Regions from separate parts of the Homo sapiens genome. Here all the other regions are linked to region 2. The links are contacts of gene promoters, found by promoter capture Hi-C in blood cells and fetal thymus (Javierre and others, 2016). All regions are on one chromosome and are shown on one strand. Each heading gives the region's core, a stretch centred on a gene start or on the middle of the fragment in contact. The rest is flanking DNA. Distances are from core to core; before and after follow the strand shown. Region 1 overlaps CXCL17 (C-X-C motif chemokine ligand 17). Region 2 holds the start of MEGF8 (multiple EGF like domains 8). Region 3 holds the start of LIPE-AS1 (LIPE antisense RNA 1). Region 4 overlaps GSK3A (glycogen synthase kinase 3 alpha).

Evidence for each region. Contacts are between HindIII fragments. The CHiCAGO score rates a contact against its expected background, and 5 or more counts as called.
Region 1: a contact is called between a fragment that was not itself captured here and the fragment with the promoter of MEGF8 in region 2, in 5 of 17 cell types (naive CD4 T cells, total B cells, fetal thymus and 2 more). The highest score is 6.5, in naive CD4 T cells.
Region 3: a contact is called between a fragment that was not itself captured here and the fragment with the promoter of MEGF8 in region 2, in 3 of 17 cell types (total B cells, naive B cells and M1 macrophages). The highest score is 7.0, in total B cells.
Region 4: a contact is called between a fragment that was not itself captured here and the fragment with the promoter of MEGF8 in region 2, in 1 of 17 cell types (endothelial precursors). The highest score is 5.1, in endothelial precursors.

Annotation. Positions count from the first base shown.
Region 1 is chr19:42,432,781-42,438,521 of GRCh38, forward strand. CXCL17 (C-X-C motif chemokine ligand 17) reads right to left here. Exons shown (of 4, transcript NM_198477.3): 2 at 996-1,076; 3 at 196-297. The region is part of intron 1 of LIPE-AS1 (LIPE antisense RNA 1); the gene reads left to right. Among named protein-coding and RNA genes, the nearest start is that of CXCL17, 7.3 kb to the right of the region's middle. RefSeq lists a silencer at 5,737-5,741. The HindIII fragment of the contact is 3,149 bases long and covers 1,453-4,601 here.
Region 2 is chr19:42,322,304-42,327,714 of GRCh38, forward strand. It overlaps MEGF8 (multiple EGF like domains 8), which reads left to right and starts at 3,332. Exons shown (of 42, transcript NM_001271938.2): 1 at 3,332-4,127. The coding sequence starts at 3,941. It overlaps TMEM145 (transmembrane protein 145), which reads left to right. Exons shown (of 15, transcript NM_173633.3): 14 at 1,280-1,486; 15 at 2,434-2,761. The coding sequence ends at 2,514. RefSeq lists silencers at 3,258-3,447, 3,488-3,627, 3,848-3,917, 3,928-3,997. The HindIII fragment of the contact is 9,695 bases long and covers 1-5,411 here.
Region 3 is chr19:42,396,263-42,401,950 of GRCh38, forward strand. LIPE-AS1 (LIPE antisense RNA 1) reads left to right here and starts at 886. Exons shown (of 3, transcript NR_073180.1): 1 at 886-962. It overlaps LOC101930071 (a long non-coding RNA gene), which reads left to right and starts at 866. Exons shown (of 2, transcript NR_126041.1): 1 at 866-962. LIPE (lipase E, hormone sensitive type) reads right to left here. Exons shown (of 10, transcript NM_005357.4): 10 at 5,252-5,688. The coding sequence ends at 5,550. RefSeq lists enhancers at 413-552, 573-732, 587-1,270, 1,271-1,954 and a silencer at 5,387-5,496. The HindIII fragment of the contact is 4,570 bases long and covers 1-4,227 here.
Region 4 is chr19:42,230,369-42,236,119 of GRCh38, forward strand. It overlaps GSK3A (glycogen synthase kinase 3 alpha), which reads right to left. Exons shown (of 11, transcript NM_019884.3): 5 at 4,180-4,310; 6 at 3,985-4,091; 7 at 2,918-3,015; 8 at 2,742-2,837; 9 at 2,128-2,314; 10 at 1,689-1,781; 11 at 1-499. The coding sequence ends at 426. Among named protein-coding and RNA genes, the nearest start is that of GSK3A, 9.4 kb to the right of the region's middle. The HindIII fragment of the contact is 1,969 bases long and covers 1,924-3,892 here.

The DNA.
Region 1 (5,741 bases), core at 1,777-4,276, 110 kb after region 2:
CCAGTATCAGGAAAATTGTATCCTGCTTTTCCTCTCTTCCTATTTCCCGACAAGGTGACATTGAGTAGAAAGGGCTGAGTTGTGTGCTTATCCTGGTCTTAATTTCACCTCTTTTTTCTATTCTCAACGTGCTTCTTCCCTAGTGATTTCACGGAGTGACTCTGGTATAAGGAAAATCATCCTTTGGAAACTTACTTGTTTTCTTCACATTGCCCTTGAAATGATCACAGGGGCACTGCTTCTTTGGCAGCCCAGACACTGTCATGAATTTTCTTCTCGGGGCTCTCAGGAACCAATCTGGAACAACAGCATTGCTGCTTAGATGGGAGAGTTAATACATTTGATAGGAGGGAGTAGGACAGAGCTTTAATCGCCATCTTCTGTGCCTTGCATTTCCACTGCAATGGGGTGGGAAAAGGGGTCAACAGAGAACAGTGTCCATCCAGCTATTTGAATGCCAGTATTTCTGAGTTGTTTTTCCTGACAACTTTGGGCAAGGTTTGGGCAAGGGTTTGGGCAAGGGTTTGGTGGCAGGTTTGGAGGGTGCATCAGAATATCATTACTCCAAAGAATGAGGAGTAAGGCTTGGGTGTCTGCTTTTCAGTGGCTACTTTCCCTTGGGGAAGCCATTTTGCCTCTCTGCTTTCAGTCTTGCCTGTGAGTAAAATAAGGCTGAGAATAGGATTCAGGAAGCTTTTGGAAGGCCAGGAAAAAATAAAAAGGCTTTTGGACGGTAGCTCTGGGTTCTTCAGGAAAAGGATAAGGGGCAGGGCGCAGCCTGACATTTGGCTGGCTTTCCCCTAGACCTTGGAGAAGTCCAGTTCTTGCCTGAGAGTCAGGAAGAAAGTGGGCACAGGTGCTGCATGTGGCAGGCTGTGGAGAGGGGAATGGGTGAGGTCAGCTGAGATAACATCTGCATTGGTCTCAGAGGGGCCCAAGGGAGAGAGCTGGGGTCATGGTGATGCCATCGCTGTTGTTGTTGCTGAATTACTGACCTTTGCACTCACATTCTTGGCCGCCTTCCTGGAGCCATCTCCTAGAAGCCTGGCCTCGGTCCCTGTGGCCTCTGGCGACCCCTGTCGGAAGGAAACAGGTCACATCCAGACACTGGAAAGGGCACAGAAATGATCCTCCCAGCATTGTTCTACCTAGGTCAGCACAGTTCCATTTTTCCATTTTTACTTCAAGAATCTAGGTTACTTCAAGAGATGAATATTTTATTTTTATTTATATTTTTGAGATGGGGTCTTGCTGTGTTGCCTAGGCTGGTCTTGAACTCTTGGGCTCCAGTGGTCCTCCTGCCTTGGCCTCCCAAAGTGCTAGGATTATAGGCGTGAGCCACTGTGCCCAGCTGAGGGGTATTTTAATCGATAAGGGATTGAGGTTTAAAATCTGGCCTATACATAAGCATATTCAAAAATTTAATGATTAAAAAAATCTGGCCTAGAGAAAAGCTTAGCTGAAGGTAGGTGGAGAAAGAATGGCTTCTAGATGGAAGAGATGATAAAAGGCAGGGGTTTGTCGAAACCTCCTGCCCTCTCCTCATACCTCACATTAAAATCCTCATGACTTAAAAGAGTGAGAGCGAGGAGGAGATTATTCCTTAAATCAAGATTTTCCCTTGACCTCCAAGTTGCTGGGTTTTTTGTTTGTTTGTTTGTTTTTTGAGACAGAGTCTCACTCTGTCATCCAGGCTGGAGTGTAGTGGTGCAATCACGGCTCACTGCAGCCTTGACCTCCTGGGTTTGGTTGGTCCTCCCATCTCAGCCTCCTGGGTAGCTGAGGCTTCAGGCATGCACCACCACTCCTGGCTAGTTTTTTGTATTTTTTGTAAAGATAGGGTTTTGCCAAGTTGCCCAGGTTGGTCTGGAGCTCATGGGCGTAAGCGATCCGCCTGTCTTGGCCTCCCAAAGTGCTGTGATTATAGGCATGAGCCACCACACCCACCCCAAGTAGCTGTATTTGAATCCAGAGTCCCAGTTCAACTATTAAACGATGGTATTTACCTTTGTTCCTCTGGAACAAATACATTCTTCTTTTGGCCTTTATCCGAGCCTGTTTTATTTTCCGATTCTATCTTATCTCCATTTTTTGATACTTAAAATATTCCTATGACAGGCTGGGCACGGTGGCTCATGCCTGGAATCCCAGCACTTTGGGAGGCTGAGGCAGGCGGATCATGAGGTCAGGAGGTCAAGACCATCCTGGCTAACATGGTGAAACCCCGTCTCTACTAAAAATACAAAAAATTAGGCGGGCGTGGTGGCGGGCGCCTGTAGTCCCAGCTACTCGGGAGGCTGAGGCAGGAGAATCTCTTGACCCCAGGAGGCGGAAGTTGCAGTGAGCTGAGATCGTACCATTGTACTCCATCCTGGGCGACAGAGCGAGACACGGTCTCAAAAAAAAAAAAAAAATTCCTAAGACAATCAAGAATGATGGTTTATAGACTTGAGATTCTCAAGTAAGAGCTTGGCTCAGATGACACTTCCTTTATGGTAGTTTCTGATATTTCCTGTCAACATGAATTATACCTTCATATGGTTCCCATTGTTGTTGAATGCAGTTCTGTTATTGCACTGTAATGTTGTTGTTTGAAATCTTTTATGGACTGAATTGTGTCTCCCGAAATTCACATGTTGAATCCATAACCCCCAGTACCTCAGAATGACTGTATATGGAGATAGGACCTTTAAAGAGGTGATTAAAATCAGGCTGTTATGGTGGGCCCTACACCAGTCTGCCTGGTGTCCTTATAAGAAAAGGAGATTTGGGCTGGGCGCGGTGGCTCATGCCTATAATCTCAGCAATTTGGGAGGCCGAGGTGGGTGAATCACAGGTCAGGAGTTTGAGACCAGCCTGGCCAACATAGTGAAACCCTGTCTTTACTAAAAATACAAAAATGAGCAGGGCATGGTGGCGCGTGCCTGTAGTCCCAGCTACTTGGAAGGCTGAGGCAGGAGAATTGCTTGAACCCGGGAGGCAAAGGTTGCAGTGAGCTGAGATCATACCATTGCACTCCAGCATGGGCAACAAAGCAAGACTTTGTCTAAAAAAAAAAAAAAAAAGTAGGGGGGATCCTAGAGAGCTCTTTCATTCTCTTTCCACCTCTTGAAGATAAGAGGAGAAGTCCACTGTCTGCAACCTGGAAGAGGACCCTTGCCAGAACCCAGCTGTGCTGGCACCCTGATTTCATATATCCAGCCTGCAGAACTGTGAGGAATAAATTTCTCTTGTTTATGCCACCCAGTCTGTGGTATTGTGTTATGGCATTCCTAGCAAACTAAAATAAAATATTTCTCCTTCACTAGACTCTGAACCATTGGTTCAGTAGTCATTCAGGTACGTGGTTCCTAACACATGGTAGGCATTTGGCAAATGTTTGTTCAACACGTGGATGGATAAGTTGTTTGGAGAGGACCCTTAGAGATCATATGGTTCAATTCAGGCCTCCTACTTCCCAGACTTCTGCCACACAGATGGAGGGGGTTGCGTCATTTCCCCAAGGGCTGCTTTTCCAATGTTCTCATGTGCTGTTTTGAGTGTTATCAAAGTAATTTAAGCAGGCATAGGTCCTGCCATTTAAACTTTTCTAACATTTTTACTCTTGCCTGACCTCTACTCCTAGTTCCAGAGAAAAACCACAGAATATTAGACCTTGAAGGAAATCCCAGAGATTATTTAATTGAATTCCTTAATTCTGAAGTTTTTTTTTTTTTCAGTCTAAATGTAATTTAACTGTTGGAGAAAATTTTGAAAGTACAAACAGAGAAATTATTATTCTTACCAACTGTTGGTATTTTGGCATATTTGTTACCTACATATGCTTTTTATTAATATAGTGATAACCATAGCATGTAAACACATTCTCTTTTTCCATTCATAGGCATGTTGCTGTGTCATCTTCATAACACATTTTTAATGAATGCATAATACTCTCAATAATTATGTGTTCCAAATTATTTAACTGCTTTCCCATTGCTGAATATTTAGAAAGTTTTATTTTTTAGATGTTGGTAAATTTCTTTGTTCTTGTAACTGTTTTCCAAATTTTAGATTATTTTCTTGAGAGAGAGTTCCCAAAGTGGAATTACTGGGTCAAAAGTTAAGAATTGCTTTCAGAAGAGCTATACTAATGTTTAAATTTTTTTTCATTTAATTATTTATTTATTTTTTTTGAGACGGAGTCTCACTCTGTCGCCCAGGCTGGAGTGCAGTGTTGTGATCTCGGCTCACTGCAACCTCTGCCTCTCGGGTTCAAGCAATTCTCCTTCCTCAGCCTCCCAAGTAGCTGGGATTACAGGCACCCACCACCATGCCTGGCTAATTTTTGTATTTTTAGTAGAGGCAGGTTTTACCATGTTGGTCAGGCTGGTCTTGAACTCTTAACCTCAAGTGATCCGCTCCCCTCGGCCTCCCAAAGCGTTGGGATTATAGGCATGAGATGCTATGCCTGGCCACTTTATACTTTTTCTCTAAACAAATTTATTTTGCAAAACATCCTCATCCTATGCAATATTATCTGTGAAATTACAGGTTTGATGTATGCTTAGTTTTTTCCTAACATGCATTGGAATAAACACATAAATATTAAAGTAAAAAGAAGCTTATTTACTTTCCACCTAAAATCAGTTTTGGGAACCACTGATACAGTGGCATAAGCATGCACTTTATATCCACATAGGCCTGGGGTCAGCTACTGGCTCTGTCACTTAACTGTCGACTTGGACAAGTCACTTGGCTTCTATGATCCTTGATTCCCTGATTTGTGAAAGGAGGGTGGTAAAATCCTCCTTGCAGAGTTGTTGGGAATAAGTGAGCTGCTGTGGGAGCCCAGTGTCCAGGCGGGTGTTGAGTACATGATGGTTATCATTGTGTTTATTGCTGTGGAATTCTGGTTATTTTCCAAAGTGAGTGTCTATGCTGGAATATTGGGCTTGTGGCTTTCTGCTGATGTGGATGTGTAAAGAAGTTACTTCCACTTGTTAGGATTTGTGGTGCATCTGTCATTATTTTCACTTCCCAGATCCACTACATATTTGCTTTGTGATTTTGGACAAAGTTGTGTAACTTTTCTGTGCCTCATTTTCCTAATTTGTAAGATGTGGTTAATAATATTCCTCCCTTATCCACAGGGGATGCATTCCAAGACCCCCAAGATACTTCAAGTCTCAGATAGTACCAAACCCTATATATATATTTTTTCTACACATATACACTTACGATAAAGTCTAATTTATGAATTAGGCACAGTAAGAGATTAACAATAAGATAGAACAATTTTAAAAATATACTGTAATAGGCCAGGTGGGGGCTCACACCTGTAATCCCAGCACTTTGGGAGGCCGAGGCAGGCGGATCACGAGGTCAGGAGATTGAGACCATCCTGGCTAACACGGTGAAACCCCATCTCTACTAAAAATACAAAAAATTAGCCAGGTGTGGTGGCGCACGCCTTTAGTCCCAGCTACTCGGGAGGCTGAGGCAGGAGAATGGTGTGAACCCAGGAGGCAGAGCTTGCAGTGAGCCGAGATTGCACCACTGCACTCCAGCCTGGGCGACAAGAGACTCTGTCTCAAAAAAAAAAAAAAAAAAAAAAAAAAAATATATATATATATATATATATATAAAATACACACACACACACACACACACACACATATATACTGTAATGAAAATGACGTGAATGTGGTCTCTCTCTCTCTTTGTCTCTTTCTCAAGATAACAATATTTTTGGACCACTG
Region 2 (5,411 bases), core at 2,082-4,581:
CCTCTCATCTTTCCAAGTAGGCGCTACAGTCCCTTTTCCCCACAGCGAGGCTCAGGGAGTTTAATCAACATGCCCCAGATCCCATACTCAGTGAGCTACAGATCCCAGAGGCGGGATGCAGGCTCAGAACGGCAAGCACAGCGCCCTTCCTGCTGTATCTCAGCCAGCTTCCTTCCTAAGGATGCTCACGTTAGCTCAGCACAGCTCCACCTGGGTATCTCAACGCTCATTGCTTTCAGCTCCTTGTTCATTTTTTTCAGCACAACCTTAGAAGAGCTGTGTTAGGTTTCCGGGATATGGCGGTGGAGTCACACCCAGTCCCTGCCTTCACAGCCTATCAGACTAACTGGTACCAGACATCCCTACATTCCACCAATATTTATTTATTTATTTATTTATTTTAAATTTTTTTTTTTTGAGATGGAATCTTCCTCTGTCGTCCAGGTTGGAGTGCAGTGGCATGATCTCGGCTCACTGCAACCTCTGCCTCCTGGGTTCAAGCAATTCTCCTGCCTTAGCCTCCCAAGTAGCTGGGATTACAGGCGCACCACCACACCTGGCTAATTTTTGTATTTTTAGTAGAGATGGAGTTTCACCATGTTGGCCATGCTGGTCTCAAACTCCTGACCTCAGGTGATCCGCCCGCCTCGGCCTCCCCAAGTGCTGGGATTACAGGCGTGAGCCATGGCGCCTTGCCCACCAATATTTACTGAAGGCTTATATGCGCCAGGCATGGTTCTAGAAGGTACTAGGGACTCAGTAGGGAACAGAAGAGTCTGGTTCCTGCCTCATCGAGACATTTTAGAGTCTATTAGTTGCTGTCCAATTGAACTTTCTGTATTTATGAAAATATCCTATTACCTGCACTTTCCAATATGGGAGCTACTAACCACATGTGGCTGTTGAGCACTTGAATGTGGGTAGTGCATAGTGAGTGTGTAGTGAGGAGTGTGACCAAAATTTAAATTTTATTTTGATTAAATTTAAGCTACATGCAGCCAGTGGCTATCATACAGTGCAGGACGCTGACCCTAAGCAATCAGTGACAGCTCAGTGATCAGGCCTCTGATGGAGGAAGCACAGGCCGAGTTTTGTTGAAGGGAAAAGGTGAGGGTCCAGGGCATTTGGAGAGCCCAGAGGGGACGCCTAATCCAGTGTGAATGGCTTCAGGGAAGTGTGGTGGATGTCAACTGAAAGGGAATCCTTCGGACCCCAAGTTTATGGGGACAGCCTCCGGCCTGACAGTGCCTCTCACACCTGCTCCTGGCCCTGGCCTCAGATCATGACCCGCCCATCAGCGGCCAACAAGAACTTCCCGTACCACGTGCGCACGTCGCAGATCGCTTCAGCCGGAGTCCCTGGACCCGGAGGGAGCCAATCCGCTGACAAGGCCTTCCCGCAGCACGTCTATGGGAACGTGACGTTTATCAGCGACTCGGTGCCCAACTTCACGGAGCTCTTCTCCATCCCCCCGCCCGCCACCTCCGTAAGCCCCGCGGCCCCAGCGCCCGAGGAGCTGCTGGCGCCGCCCCTGGAGTACCTGACCCCGCTCCCGGCCCCGCCGCCGCCCCCAGCGCCCGGACCCCTGAGCCCTCCTCCTGCCTTTCGCACTCCCCGCGCCCCAACACCGCGCCGCGACCGTCCCCTGGCGCCCGCGCCCACCCTGCCTGACTGGGTTCTGGCGCTGTTGCGCACACCCCCGCAGACTCCCTGCGCCGTGCCCCCACCGCCCGCCTTCCGCGGCTCTCCCCCAGCTCCCCGGCCGCCGCCGGAGTTCGCCCCGCGCGCCCCGACGCCGCCCTTTGAGTACCTGGCCCCGCTGCCCAGGCGCCCCGCCACCCAGTCCTTCCCTGACTGACAACGTGCGTCCACACCTGGGGTGGAAGGGTTCTCCGGGGGAGGGGGACGGGCCTTCGGGGCCGCATCTGCCCCCCGAGGGTCCCGGACGGCCTCTGACCCTGACCCCCCTCCCAGGCCGGGAAGCAGGTGGAGGAGACAGCGGTGGCGGCGGCGGTGGCCCCGAGGGGCCGCGTGGTGACCATGGCCGAGCCGGGCGCAGCCTCCCCCCCACTTCCCGCTCGGTTCCCCAAGGCGGCCGACTCGGGCTGGGACGGCCCGACGCCGCCCTACCAGCCGCTCGTGCCCCAGACGGCAGCGCCGCACACCGGCTTCACCGAATACTTCAGCATGCACACGGCCGGGGGCACTGCACCCCCGGTCTGAGCACCCCTGCCCGCCCCTGCCCCATGGGCCATGACCGGGCCCCGGCCGGGCTCCGGACCCCTGCTTTATCCCGGCCCGAGAGCTCGCCCATCCCCGGCCTTCCCGACCCTTCCCACCCCGCGCGCCCAGGTTGGGTACGCTGCGTCCCGCCCCCCTCCCCTCTGTGCCAAACGGTCCCGCGGGAGCCGCTCTCCCCGTCCCCTCCCTCAGCCCCTGCCCCGAGCGGCGCCGGATTCTGGGCTCCCGCTGTTCCGTGACCTCCGGCCCCCTGGCCCCCTTCGAGACCTCTGACCCCGCTGGACTCCGGAACACCCGTGGTGACCGCCGGGACCCTGCCTGTGACTCTCCAGGACTCTGCGACCCCGGGATGGATATTGCGATGCTGGTCTCGACCCTGAAACCCTCCCTCGGATCTGTGACCTCGGACCCGTACTCCATCTGCCGCATCTCCATTCCGGGGGCCTTCCCTCGGGTCCCTGGCAGAAAGACATTTTACCCCTTCTTGCCAAAATAAAAAAGGATTCGTTTTTATCTATAACATGGCTTCTTTTGCATCTTGATGGTGTTCAGCGGCGGGGCTGAGCCAGAACTATGTCAGGCTCGGGACCTCAGTGTGTCCATCTGTGAAATGGGAATTTGGAACCGGAGGCAGGGGCCTGTATAACCTGATCTTTATGTTGCCCCAGAATGTGGGAACATTGAAGATGATCAAACATCTAGCAGGGTCTTGCACCGCTCCTTTATTTTTGCCTTCCTTTCCTCACTCAGAGGTAGAGGCGCCCTCCAGTGGCCCATGCTTTGCTGAACCACAGGCACCCAGAGTTTGGGTTACGATCTTAGCACTGCGCATATGTGTATTTCTCTCCCTCCAGGAGGACGCTGCTGCGCATGCGGTTGGGAACAAATGGGCGGGGATTTCCCCGGAAGTCTCCCTTTATGGAGGGTTGGGGTTGGGCGCTCCGCAGTCCTCCCAGGGCCGCTCTGACCGGCCGCTCTGTAACTTCTCGCCTCCTCTTCGCCGTCCCTCCCACAGCGGCTGCTCGGCTCCCGCCCCCTCGCCCTCCCACAGCGGGTCTTCCCGCGGCCGCTCTGGCCCAAGCGTCCCCTCGTCTCTCTGATCTGGCCCATCCGGCTTCGGAGGGAGGCGAGGGTGGGTGAGCAAAGGGATTGGGTCTGTGGGGTCCAGGCCCGAACCCCTGAAGACGGGCTCCGCCCCCGGCACCCGCTCGCGCCCCGCCCCCGGCTGGAGGAGTCTCTCCTGGACCATCCGAACCTAGCCTGTCCCGGCCCGCAGCCTCTATGGAGGCTCCTGCCGGGCCGTAGAGCCCTTCGCCCCCTGGGGACCCACCCGTCTATAAGGTCCGTTTGGCCTGCAGCAGCCTGAGTCCGTAATGCTGGGCACTGTTCATGGGATCGGCCCCCTATGGAGCCCTGTGTCTATAGGGGACTCCTACGGTCCCTAGGGTTCGGCCCCGTCCATAATGACTCCATATACAGGGCCTTCCATCGCTCTATAGGGCTCAGCCCTCGGCTTCCAGAGCCTGTCAGCAGTGGCCGTACCCTTCGCCGGGACTGCCGGGTCTCCGGGACCTCTTCGATCTACAAGGTCATGTTATGCCTATAGAGGTCGCATTTGCAGGGCCTCACCCCGGGTAGAGGGTCCTCTCCAGGTTTTTACGGCCTGTCCCCGCTCTAAGGGTCAGTGCAGGAGGCGGCGATGGCCCTGGGCAAGGTTCTGGCCATGGCACTGGTTTTGGCCTTGGCCGTGCTGGGGTCGCTGTCCCCTGGGGCCCGGGCGGGGGACTGCAAGGGGCAGCGGCAGGTGCTGCGGGAGGCGCCAGGCTTCGTGACGGATGGTGCGGGCAACTACAGCGTCAATGGCAACTGCGAGTGGCTCATCGAGGGTGAGTGGGGCCGCGTGGGTCACTCACTAATTCGCTGGTAGTTCATTCATGTGTGCATTCATCCACTCACCACATTCCCAGAGCTCGGTTCTGGTCCAGGCCTTTTGCTCTAAAATGCCTGACACCCAGGGTTGCAGCCAACCTGGGCCCTGCCCTGGAAGGCCTCCAAGTCTGGTGGGGGAGATGCACCTACACCCAGATTTACAATTACAAGACAGGAGCATCAGTGCCGGGCCTTCTGAGTAACTGTTAAGAACTCAGGGTCTGGGTCCAATCATTTGGCTTTGAATTTGGTTCTACTACTACTACTTTTTTTTTTTTTTTTTTTTGAGATGGGGGCCTCACTCTGTCACCCAGGCTGGAGTGCAATGGTACCAACACAATTTACTTACTGCAGCCTCGACCTCCTGGGCTCAAGTGATCCTCCCACCTCAGCCTCCCAAGTAACTGAGTGTGTAGAGACAGAGTCTCACCATGTCGCCCAGGCTAGTCCTGAACTCTTGGGCTCAAACGATCCTCGCACCTCAGCCTCCCAAAGTGTTGGGATTGTAGGTGTGAGCCACTGTGCCTGGCTTCTTATTATTAGCTTTGTGACTTTGAGCAGGTGGTTTTCTTTCTCTGAGGTTCTGTTTCCTTCCCCCACAAATGGGATAACAACAGTACTCACCTCATAGAGTTGTTGGAATGAAATGAAAACAGGTATTTAACATGCCTGATGTGTGGCATATAGTAACTGTTCAATAAATGGCATTAGGATTATTGTTGTTGTTATTTGTGAAGTACTTCAATAAAAGCATTTTTCTTCAGTCATTCATGTGCCAGACATTATGTTTCCCATTGGACATAGCCCAGACTGAGACAGCTCCAGCAATCCCTGGTGACTTAGGTCTTGGAGTCTAGTTGGGGAGACAAACACATTAATAGTGAGAGACAAGAGTGGTCTTTGATGGAGGAACCCCAGAGGCCTGGGAGAGCCCAGAGAAAGTGCCTGATCTGGGGCCGGGGAGAACAGAGAGGCTTCCTGGAGGAGGAAATGTCTAAGCTGAGACTTAAAGGACCAATAGGAATCTGTCAGGAGTGGGAGGAAAGGCCCCAGCCCTACCCTTCTGGGCTCCCAGTCAGTGGGAGAGACAAACCCACTCCGAGGCTGTTTGTTTTCCTTTTCCACCCAATAAACTCCTATGCATGCCTCAGAACCCTGCCCCAGTGGCTCTTTCTCTGTGAAGACATGTGGCTTAACCTGGGGTATAGCTGAGATCAGAGGCATCTGTACGAGGGAGCAGA
Region 3 (5,688 bases), core at 693-3,192, 73 kb after region 2:
TAATTATGTAAAATGCTCAGCACAGAACCAGGCCACAGTAAACTCAGTACAAGAGAGCTCTGTTATTATTACTGTTTTATTTTTGCCATCTCCCCTTTGGTATCTCTATTTTTCTCTTAGTCTCACGTGAGTCTCCAGTCTCCTCTAGCTCTGGGTTCCTTTTGCAGACAGCACCTGCCTCTGACTTCCCTTTTCGGGATGAGGAAAGGGCATATCCAGGCCAGAGCTTCCCCTGAGCCTCTTCCTTCTCCCTCTCCATTACAAGCTCCGCCTCATTACCCAGAACACTTGCCTGGGGGTAAGGCCTGGCTCCCTTCCCATAAATAGCCTCATAAAATCCTGAACCCCAAACCTGTCATCCCTGGGCGGGCGAGTGACTCAAGATCCCGGAGTTCCCGCTCCTAGACACCAAACCTTCAGGTTTCCAGCCCCCTCCTCCCTCTGACCCAGGAGTCCGGGCCCCTAGTCCCTCCTTCCTCGGGTCCCAGACTTCTCCTCCTTCAGAACCAAGGAGTCTGAACTCTCAAATCCCCAACCTTCCTCAAGACCCAAGGATCGGGTCAGCAAACAGCCTAGGTATGTGGGGCCAGAAACTCCATTCACGACCATTCTGCGACCGTCTACGCCCAGGGCTCCCACCCCGACTCAGTCCCTCCGGAGGCGGGTCCGACACGCGAGGCGCTTCTTTGGAGTCTGGCGGCGAAAGCTATCCATGACGTCAGTCACTATCTTCCAGCCAATGGACACTCGGCCTTCTACCTCCCTGGGCCACTCAGGACCCTTTGCCTGGTAGGCGGGGCCCACAGCCCAACTCGGGCAGCGATAGGCTTTCGGAGACGCCAGTCTCTGCCAGGCCCAGTCAGTCGGCCAATAGACCCGGAACCTGAGGGATCGGAATCCTGGTCCACTCCGCAGAGGCCCGAGCGGGCTCGCGAGGGAACGGGTTCTCCGAGTCTGGCCGGGTAAGCCCTTTCCAGCACGCCTAGTATTAGGATTCTGCACATAGCTCGGGTGGAAAACCGTGAGGCTTAGTGAGGCTTGAGGCGGAGGGGGGAGGAGCTCAGTCCCGGCGAACCCATCTTGCTTTCTTGGAGAAACTGAGACCGGGATACTGGATCTGTTATTCATCCATCCGTTCCTCCCACCCTAAGCCTGATTCTCGTCTGCTCCTGCCTTCCTGTTCCTTCATCCGTTCTGCCCTTCCTGCCCTCAATTCTCTCACTCACGGATTCCCTCGTCTAGCCACTCACTCACACACTCTCCCACCTATTAGTTAGACAAACATTTCCTGAGGCTTCTGGTGTGCCAAGCCTCGTGCTGGGCGATGCTGGTGACCAAGATGAGTCAGGCCTGGGCCGTGCCCTCAAGGAGCCCGGGTCAGATGGGAGGATGGACGTTGATGGGCATGGGTGTGCGGAGACGGTGGGAGCCCAGGAGAGACTTTTTTGAGTTTGGCGTGGTCGGGAAAGGGTTTCCAGGGGAGGGGCCATTGGAGCTGGATCTTGGAGGAGCAGAAGGTGCCAGGCAAAGTGGAGATGCCAGGCAAAATGGGTGTGGGGAGGGTGTTTCAGCGTGACCAAAGACAGGGAGGCATGCAGGAGCAGTACTGCGTGCAGGTGCCTAAGCGGAAGGCCAGTCAAGTCTGTATGGCCAGCAGGGGAACTGTAAGGCTGGAGGAGGCCGAAGAGATGAGCAGAGGCCAGGCTGAGGAGCTTGGACTTTGTCCTGAGGGTGAGGGGGTAGTGGAGAGCCATGGAAGGGTTGAGAGTAGTGGAGGACAAGGTCATAGTTGGTCCAGAACTGGAGGAATGAGACTGGAAGCCAGTAGCCCAGGAGGTGGCTCTGGCAGGGATTCAGGTAGGAGAGAGTGGAGCCTGGATCAGGGAAGAGGCCGAGGGGATAAGATAGAGATTCAGGAGGCAAGGCTTGGTGCTGTGGCTCGTGTCTGTAATCCCAGCACTTTGGAAAGTTGAGGCGGGAAGATCACTTGAGCCAAGGAGTTCAAGACCAGCCTGGGCAACATAGTGACAGCCTCATCTCTACAAAAAATTAGCCAGGTGTGGCCAGGCGCGGTGACTCACTCCTGTAGTCCCAGCACTTTGGGAGGCCGAGGCGGGTGGATCACGAGGTCAGGAGTTCAAGACCAGCCTGGCCAAGATGGTGAAACCCTGTCTTTACTAAAAATGCAAAAAATTAGACAGGCTTGGTGGTGGGCACCTGTAATCCCAGCTACTCGGGAGGCTAAGGCAGAAAATTGCTTGAACCCAGGACGGGGAGGTTGCAGTGAGCTGAGATCGCGCCACTGCACCCCAGCCTGGGCCACAGAGTGAGACTCAAAATAAAAAAAAAAAAAAGAAAAATTAGCCAGGTGTGGTGGTGCATGCCTATGGTCCAAGCTACTGAGGAGGCTGAAGCAGGAGGATCACTTGAGCCCGGGAAGTCGAGGCTGCAGTGAGCCAAGATGGTGCCACTGCACTCCAACCTGCACAAGAGTGAGACCTTATCTCAAAAAAAAAAAAAAAAAAAAAGAAAGAAAGAAAAATAAATAAGGAGATTCAGGAGGCAGAGAGAACAGAAAGTGGGGATTGATGGGCTATGGGACAAGGGGTTGTCCAGCATGAGACCCAGAGCTCTAGTCTGGAGGACAGTGGAGCCATCTCTGAGGTGGGGACAGGAAAAGAGGAGCAGGTTGATGGGTAGTGACTGTTTTGACAGAGGTGACCAAGGGGTTCTATGAGTTGGACAAGGAGAGTGGTGACTCAGGCCAGTGGATCTGGACCTTCAGGAAGAGTTCTGGGCTACAGCTCCCTGCCCCAGCACAGGCCCTGACTCAGAAGTCACTTGCTGGGTGAACGAGGACCTCTGAGCTGAGGATCCCTTGCTTCGCACCCCGTGAGGAAACGGCTTTCTTGTTTCTGCATCTTCAGTCTCTCCCACTCCTCCAGCATTCAAACATGTCCATCATCTCTAAACACATGTGCCCTGTATCAGGCTCTCTTGTGGCGCCCACTGGCTCAATCCCTTACCTTCCACTCCCTCTTCAACCCACTATGTCTGGCTGCCTAACGGCCATGACCCTGCAGTGGCTCTGGACAAGGTCACTGAGGTCACCTGCTCATTGCTGACACCTGAGGGTAACATTTCAATCCTCATCTGACCTGGTCCACTCCCTGAAACTCCCTTCACCCTACATCCTCCTTCCTGGGCAGCTTCCTCCCTCTCTGGCTGCTCCTTAGAACCCGCCAGCCTTGCCTTCCACTGCCCACCCCCGCCCACCCCTTTACTAGGGGTGTGATCCTCAGGGCTGTCTCTGTCCTGGCCCTCTTGTTGCTTGTCCCACCTGCCCAGGCTTCCTGGAAAGGTTCTAGTCCCTTGGTTCCACCTAGACTGCATTTTTTTTTTTTTTTGAGGCAGAGTCTCATTCTATTGCCCAGACTGGAGTGCAGTGGTGCAGTCTCGGCCGACTGCAACTTCTGCCTTCCAGGTTCAAGCGATTCTCTTGCCTCAGCCTCTCAGTTAGTTGGGATTACAGGCGTGCACCACCACACCTGGCTAATTTTTGTATTTTTAGTAGAGACAGTGTTTCACCATGTTGGCTGGGCTAGTCTTGAACTCCTGACCTCAGGTGATCCACCCGCCTCAGCCTCCCAAAGTGCTGGGATTACAGGTGTGAGCCACCACACCCAGCCCCAGACTGCACTTCTGACCCTTGTTGTCTCCTGGATTGTCTTCCTGAGACCTTCCAGCTCACCATGTCCAGAATGGCCCTCCACAGGTCCCACCTGTCACACACACACCTGAGCCTCCTCCCATTGAAGAGACAGCTTCACTGTCCACCTGCTTCCATGGCCAGACCTGGGTGTCATCTCTGTCCCCTTGCTGTCCTGTAACCTCATCAGTAGGTGCTGTCCTTCCCACCTTTTATGGCTCTGGGATGCTACACCTACACTCCCTACCCTTACGGCTCCTGCCCCAGCTCAGGCATCCTCCTTGGCCTGTAGGACTCCAGTTTTGCCCTTTTCTGTCCATCCCCCAGTGTCCCAGCAGGATCTTTCAGTGCCCTGAGCTGACCCTGGCCCTTTCCTGCTCAAAGTGCTCCTGTGGCTCCCCACTGCCCTCCAGTTTAGTCCAAATCGTACTCCAGGCTCTTCAGGCCCTGCTCCTGCTGACCACTCCAGGCCCCTCACGCCCCTCCCCACTTTGCACCTGACCTTCTGGTCAGGTGGAAGCTTTTTCTAGCCAGGTGGCAGCTTTGATCACTGCCAGCTGGCTCTCACAACCTGGCATGTTTTTTCTTCCTAGCAGACTTTTGTTCATCCTGTAGTGTCAAGCTCAGATCACCACCTCTGTGAAGCCCTCCCTGACTACCACAGGTGGAACCCCTGGGGACTGTGACAGCCTGTGTCTGTTCTTCCACCCTCTCTGAATCCAGGATCAGAAGCCCTTTGAAGGCATGTCTTGGGTATAAATCATCTCAACTCCAAACTCAGGGCTTACAAGGGGCCAGAGAGTTGGTCCAAGAGTTGATTGTCACAGCTGGACAGAGCTTGCATTTCCAGTTTTTGTTTTTTTGGAAACAGGGTCCCACTCTTGCCCAAGTTGGAGTGCAGTGGTGCGATCATAGCTCACTGCAACCTCGAACTCCTGGGCTTAAGTGATCCTCCTGCCTCACCCTCCTGAGTAGGTAGGACTGCAGGAGTGTGCCACCACGCCCGGCTAATTTTTAAATGTTTTTGTAGAGACTGGTCTATGTTGCCCAGGCTGGTCTCAAACCCCTGGACTCAAGCTATCCTCCTGTCTTGCCTCCCAAAGTGCTGGGATTACAGGCGTGAACCTCCGTGCCCGGCTGCATTTACAGTATTTTGAGCGCCAGTTTGTTTCTGATTTCCTGCTAACTTTGCTCCAGTTCTGTAGGGTGTTTGGGTCACTGGAGCCTTTGAGACCCGAGAGATTATTTTTAACTTTTATATCCCCCTGATGGATGCTGAGCCTGGTCTCCCTGGGACCAGGGTGAGTCCAGCTAACCGAAGGTCTTCAAGGGGAGGAGCTGAGGACCCAGCATCTCCTGGCAGTGTACCTGGATGAAGTCCGAGGGGAGGTGGGTCCGGGTTACCAAGGAGTCCACTCCCTTCTGGTCCCAAAAATCCAGTCCCCCATACCCCTCATTCCAGGTTTCTTGGTTCCCAGCCGCTTGAGTCCGATGCTGCCCCCTGGTGGGCAAACACCCCACCGTATTTGAGAGAGGCCAAACTAATTAAATACTTTTATTTACAACAAACCAAACCGACCTGCAAGGGAGGGCCAGTCCCCGTCCCTGCGGCGGTCGCCGCAGCAGCAGCAGCAAAAGGCAGCGGTGGCGTGCAGGTCCAGCCGTCTCGGTGACCGGTGTGTGTGCGCGTCCCCCTCCCCGTGGCGAGGGTCTCAGCTTTCGGGCCCCCGCCCCGCCCCCTTGCCACCCCCGACTTAAGTAAGGCACAGCCCGCGTCCCCTTCCGCCCGGCCCGGAAGGCATTCATGACGGAGGCCGGCGCAGATGGGAACAACAGGCTTTTAGTGTCGCCCCCCGCAGCCCCCGTCTACCCCCGCAGCCCCCGTCTCCCCGCTCGGCCCGGCTCCGGCGGGAGGAGTGAGGACGAGGCGGATGCGCTCCACGCACAGCTCTGCGGCCTGGCGCGTCTCGCGGCACAGC
Region 4 (5,751 bases), core at 1,658-4,157, 92 kb before region 2:
TGGACGGTGCGAATCGACGTTTTCTTTAAGAAAAAAATTATAACAATCTATTTACACCCGGGGGCCAGGGAAGGGAAGAGGAGACGGGCTGGGCTGGTTCTATTTACAAGGGACACAGGAGGGGAGGGGGTCTGGAGGAGGTGGAGGTCTGGGGGAGGGGAGGGGGCCAAGGGGGTAGGAGGTCCTCATCCCCCCAACACCCTGTCCTTCTCTTCCCTCCCCACAACCAGTTAAAATCCTCTTAAAAAGCCCACCACAGGGGTGAGGCTGGTGAGGGAGGGACTGGAGGTGGGGACAGGGACTCATTTACCTCTGCCCTCTAGTCTAGGGGCCCAGCCAGGGCAGGAGCTTGATGGGCTATGGCCCCCCTTCCCAGCCCCTCTTGGGGCTCCCAGATGGAAGTGGAAGGGTGCTTGGTGGGGCCCTCAGGAGGAGTTAGTGAGGGTAGGTGTGGCATCGGTCGACTGCCAGTCTGAGCTGGTCGGAGTCTCAGTTAAAGCTGGAGGGAGGCAGGGAAGGAGCAGAGTTAGCCTTTGCCTTTCAGACACCCCTTCGCCCAACCCAAAAGTAGGAATTCTCTTGTCATAGATGCTACATTAAAAGTTACAAGCTGTTACTTTAGGTGAAGGGTTGCAAACTCAAGTGCTAAAGGGCCACGATAGTAACTGAGTGACACACCAGAGTGCCAGGCTCCATATAAGGCGGTGGCTGGGCTGGGCACAGTGGCTCACGCCTGTAATCCCAGCACTTTGGGAGGCTGAGGTGGGCAGATCACAAGGTCAGCAGTTCGAGACCAGCCTGGCCAACATGGTGAAACTCCATGTCTACTCAAAATACAAAAATAAGCCAGGCATGGTGGTATGAGCGTGTAATCCCAGGTACTTAGGAGGCTGAGGCAGGAGAATCACTTGAACCCAGGAGGCAGAAGTTGGAGTGAGCCGGGATTGTGCCACTGCACTCCAGCCTGGGTGACAGAAAAAGACTCCGTCTAAAAAATATAAAGGGCGCCCACTGTCTACTGTCAGTAGGATGGGCGGGCCCATTGCTGCCCAATCTGATTTTCTTCCCCAAGAGAAACAGGAAATCTGAATTTTTACATAAAATAGCCCCATTTTTAAACGTGGACACCATGGCCAGGCACAGCGGTTCACGCCTGTAATCCCAACACTTTAGGAGGCCAAGCGGGAAAATCACCTGAAGTTCAAGACCAGTCTGGCCAACATGGTGAAACCTCATCTCTAGTAAAAATACAAAAATTAGCCAGGCGTAGTGGTGTGTGTCTGTAATCCCAGCTACTCGGAGGCTGAGGCAGGAGAATTGCCTGAGCCCAGGAGGCGGAGATTGCAGTGAGCCGAGATCGAGCCACTGCACTGCAGCCTGGGTGGCGAGTGAAACTCTATTGCACAAAAAAAAAAAAAACAAACTTGGGCAACGAATTCAACTTTTTGTTTGTGTTCAGGCCAGACGTTATTTCTCTGGCTTTCCCATTGGCATTAAACACATTTAAACATTTGTACGCAAGAATACCCTCTAAAGGTGGTCATTCACATGTTGTAAGATGTGTTTCCTATGCCATCAAAATGTCGATGATTTAAAAATACATTCAGGAAACCCAGTCACTGAGCGAACAGCCCCACCCTCTCCAGGCTGAGAGATACTTTAACCCCCAGCAGATGGTCCCCACTTACCTTGTGAGGACGGGGTGAGGGTGGTAGTGCCCGCTGGGGACCTCAAGTGAGGAGGGATGAGAATGGCGTTGAGAGACGGTTGGATGGAGAGTTCTAGAAACAGGAATTGACATGCTAGTCAGGGTAGACTACAGCAGGGTTATGATGGGCACCAAATGGGAACCCAGCTATTGGGAAGGCCAGTTGTTTGTGGACACCTTCAGCCACAGACCTCTCTCAATGAAAAACCAGAAAAAGCTTAGCACAAGGCAGATCACAGTAAAGCACAACTGAAGCAGGTTCGATTCCCCCTGAATCTGGGAGTCATCTTTCCTGAGCCCCAGGCCTGCCTTGTACCCTGCCCTTAGCTCCCCACTCCTGCTTCAACACCAAGCTCCTCACAATCTTTGGCTGCCCCCCTACCCCGCCCCACTCCCCAGATCCCAGGCTATGCCCTCACCACCAGCACTGAAGTTGAAGAGAGGGGGAAGTGGGCGGTTGTTAGGCAGCTGGGTTCCCAGACATCGCAGTTCATCAAAGAAGCTGTGCGCACAGGCCTCTAGTGGGGAGAGCCTTGAGGATGGGGTGTACTCCAGCAGGCTAGAGCAGAGCGCGATGGCCTCTGGCGGCGTTCGAGATTTGAACACCTGAGGGATGGGTGCAGGGCTCATGAGGGTGAGATGCCCTGGACACTGGCATACTCCTGTTATCTCACTGCCACAGTGCCTGCGGCAAGTTATGACTGGTTGCTTCCCACACCCCCACCTTCCAAATGAAGAAACTAAGGCCCAACCACTAAGGAGAGGTCAGTTTGTATCGGGTAAGCAGGCAGCCCAGGTCTGGGACTATATGAGCCCTGCTGACCCTCCATAAAAATTGGAATCTTGAATTTACTTGTGGGTTCTCAACTTTTAAAATGCCATAAACTTTGAAAGCGGATGGATGTTATTGATCCCTGGATAACTCTTCAAATCCTCCCAAGCCGTGATTCTGAGGCTAGGTCCACAGAACAGTTGACCTCCAAGGGGGACCAGCTCTCAGCCATACTGCCCTGAGCCCCTAGCCCTGCCCCACCTTTGTCCAGGGGTGAGCTTTAATCTGAGGGAACTTGAACTCCGTGTAGTTGGGGTTCATCTCTCGGATTTGTTCCCGGGTTGGTGTTCCCAGCACCTGTAAAGAGAGGGAGGGGTCTGAGACAAGGGCCCCATCCCTCAGCCCCACCCCCTGCCCAGCCCAGCCCCGCCCCTCACCTTGATGATCTCCACCAGCTGGTCCACCCCACTGTCCCCAGGGAAGATGGGCTGGCCCAAGAGGAGCTCTGCCAGTACACAGCCAGCTGACCAAACATCTGAGGGGAAATGGAGGGAGCGTCAGGGCTAGGCGAGTAGGGCCACCAACCTCCCAATGCTTTTATTCCTCATGGCCATCCTAAGAGTGTCAGGAGCCCCGTTTTCTCAAAGACAAAGCACCTGGCCCAAGGTCACATGCAGCTTAGAAACATGGGCCCGACCTTGACCCTGCCTTTGCTGTACTCTCTAGTCTAGGTGTGTTTCCAGCCCTCAGTTCCTCTCTCTGCTAAGGACCCCAATGAGCTCCTTCTCTCCCGCTAGCCTTGGACGACAGACCAAATTAGGCCCAAACCTGCCAACAGGCACCCATGTTCTTTGGGCCACAGGAAGGTACAGCCTTAAATCCTGGACTGCCTTCCTCTTGTTCCAGCCTCTCTCCTGCCCATGAGAAGAGCTGCAGCGTGGCAGTCTCACCCCTCCCTGCTTTGTACCTTGACCCCCACAGCACGAGTTCATACCTAAGGACTCCACAGTTCGTCATGCTGCTGTGGAAGGTGCCCTTTCAAACTCTCATGCCCATTCCCTCAATTCAGACTTCCCCTCATGCCTGGAAAATGGCAGTTGTCCCCACAAACAGGGAAGGACACAGAGGCCCTGGGAGCAAGTTGCACCTTCATGGTGGCAAAGCCTTGCTTCCCGGTTCCCCCAAGGTCTCCAGCAGCCCTTCCCCCTAGCTGAGAACAGAGGGCTGACAGGGAGGTTCCAGAGCTGGTATGGACTCTGGAGTCAGGTCAGCTTTCAAATCCCAGTCCTGCCCAGTCCTAGTGGTGCCAGTGCGGGCAGGCGGCCTCACAGCTCTAAGCTCATCTGTAAAATTAGCATTCAACAGCATCAGCCTCCTAAGTTTGTGAGGACTGGATACAAGAACAGAAGTTAAGCTTTCATCACCAAGCTTGGCATACAGCACACAGAAAACTCCAAAACTTCCCAGATTGCCACTCCCCCCGCCACCCTCCCATAACTCTGACCGATGGATGAGGTGTAATCAGTGGCTCCAAAGATGAGCTCTGGGGCCCGGTAGTAGCGAGAACAGATGTAGGAGACATTGGGCTCCCCTCGGACCAACTGCTTTGCACTGTGGGAAGAGATGGGCAGGGGTACACGTGAGGCAAGGGTTGGGGTCCCCCCTGCCTCTTCAGCCACCCAACATGCCCCAGGCCCACCTGCCAAAATCGCAGAGCTTGAGGACAGCAGTGTCAGGGTCCACCAGCAGGTTCTGGGGCTTGATGTCGCGGTGACACACGCCCTGGGAGTGGATGTAGGCCAAGCTGCGGAAGAGCTGGTACATGTACACCTGCGGCGGGCACAGGATAGCAGAACTTTAGCCCAGCTTTCCCCATACAGCACCACTACCCCACCAGCTTGGCCTGAAGAGCCCTTCCAGGCCCACTCTCCCTGCTGCCCCCACAGCTTTGGGGAAACCCATTTGAAACCTTGGTTCTCTTAATGTGCACCACAATCACTTGAAGGACTTGTTAAAACAGGGACTACTGGCTGGGCGTGGCGGGTCACGCCTGTAATCCCGGTATTTTGGGAGGCCAAGACCAGCCTCGCCAACATGTTGAGATCCCGTCTCTACTAAAAATACAAAAATTAGCCGGGCGTGGTGGTGCACACCTGTAATCCCAGCTACTCGGGAGGCTGAGGCAGAAGAATCACTTGAACTCAGGAGGCGGAGGTTGCAGTGAGCCGAGATCGCACCACTGCACTCCAGCGTGGGTGACAGAGACCCTGTCTCAAAAAAAACAAAAAAAAAGGGACTGCTGGGCCCCACTCTTAGAGTTTCTGATCAGTGAGTTCTGAATGAGGCATTTGCAACAAGCTCTCCAGCACTGATGCTGGTCCCCGGACCACACTCTGAGAACCACTGCTTTAATCACAACCCTTGGCAGAAGCCTGATGAGTAAGGTACATCGGGAGGTTGTCATAAAACAGGCTAGGGAGCCAGGCACTCAGCTTCCCCCTCACCAAAACCACTGGCTCCTTAATCCGACAATCAAAACCACCCCTGAGCCTGCCCCCTCTCCAGCTCCATTTTCCTGCCACTCTCCCTCCCACTGACTAGAACAGAAGTACCGTGAGAGCAGGATTTTGAGTTTCAGTTACTGCTGCATCCCCCAGGGCCTAGACAGACCAGGTCCTGACATGGCTGCTTCCTAGGCCCCCTTCCTTTTATTCCAGTTCCCCTCGGCCAAAGATGCCACTTCCTTGCCCTGTGCTTGGTCTCCTCCAGGAAGCCTTCCTTGATCCTTCTCACCCACAAACCAGGCTGGGTGCTTCCTCCATTTCCAGAATTCCCTGTGCTCCTTCTGGTATGGCAGCAGCTAGTTCATTTAATAGTTTTCTGTGATGACGCCTTTCTACCCTACCAAACTGAGAGCTCTTCAAGGCCAAGGCCTGGGTCGCAGTCAGTGGTGCCTCTGGAATTCCTCAGCCCTGGGACCCGTATGCAGGCAGCCACAGGACAGATTCGCCAAACCAGAGAGCTCCCCTCCTGGGAAGTGAGGTCCAACAGCCACAACCACTGGTAGAGCCCACGTCGGCTCACCCGTGCTTGGTACGTAAAGCCAGCAGGAGCAGCAGCTGGGCCCCAAGTGACCTTCAGCAAACAAACCCACCCACCTCCTTCCAATGCAGTAGGCTGCTCCAGCCTGTTCGCCACATCATCCCTGGGCTGCAATCATTCATTCATTCATTCAAACACCTCCTGAAGGTCTGTAACACCCAGGGCACGA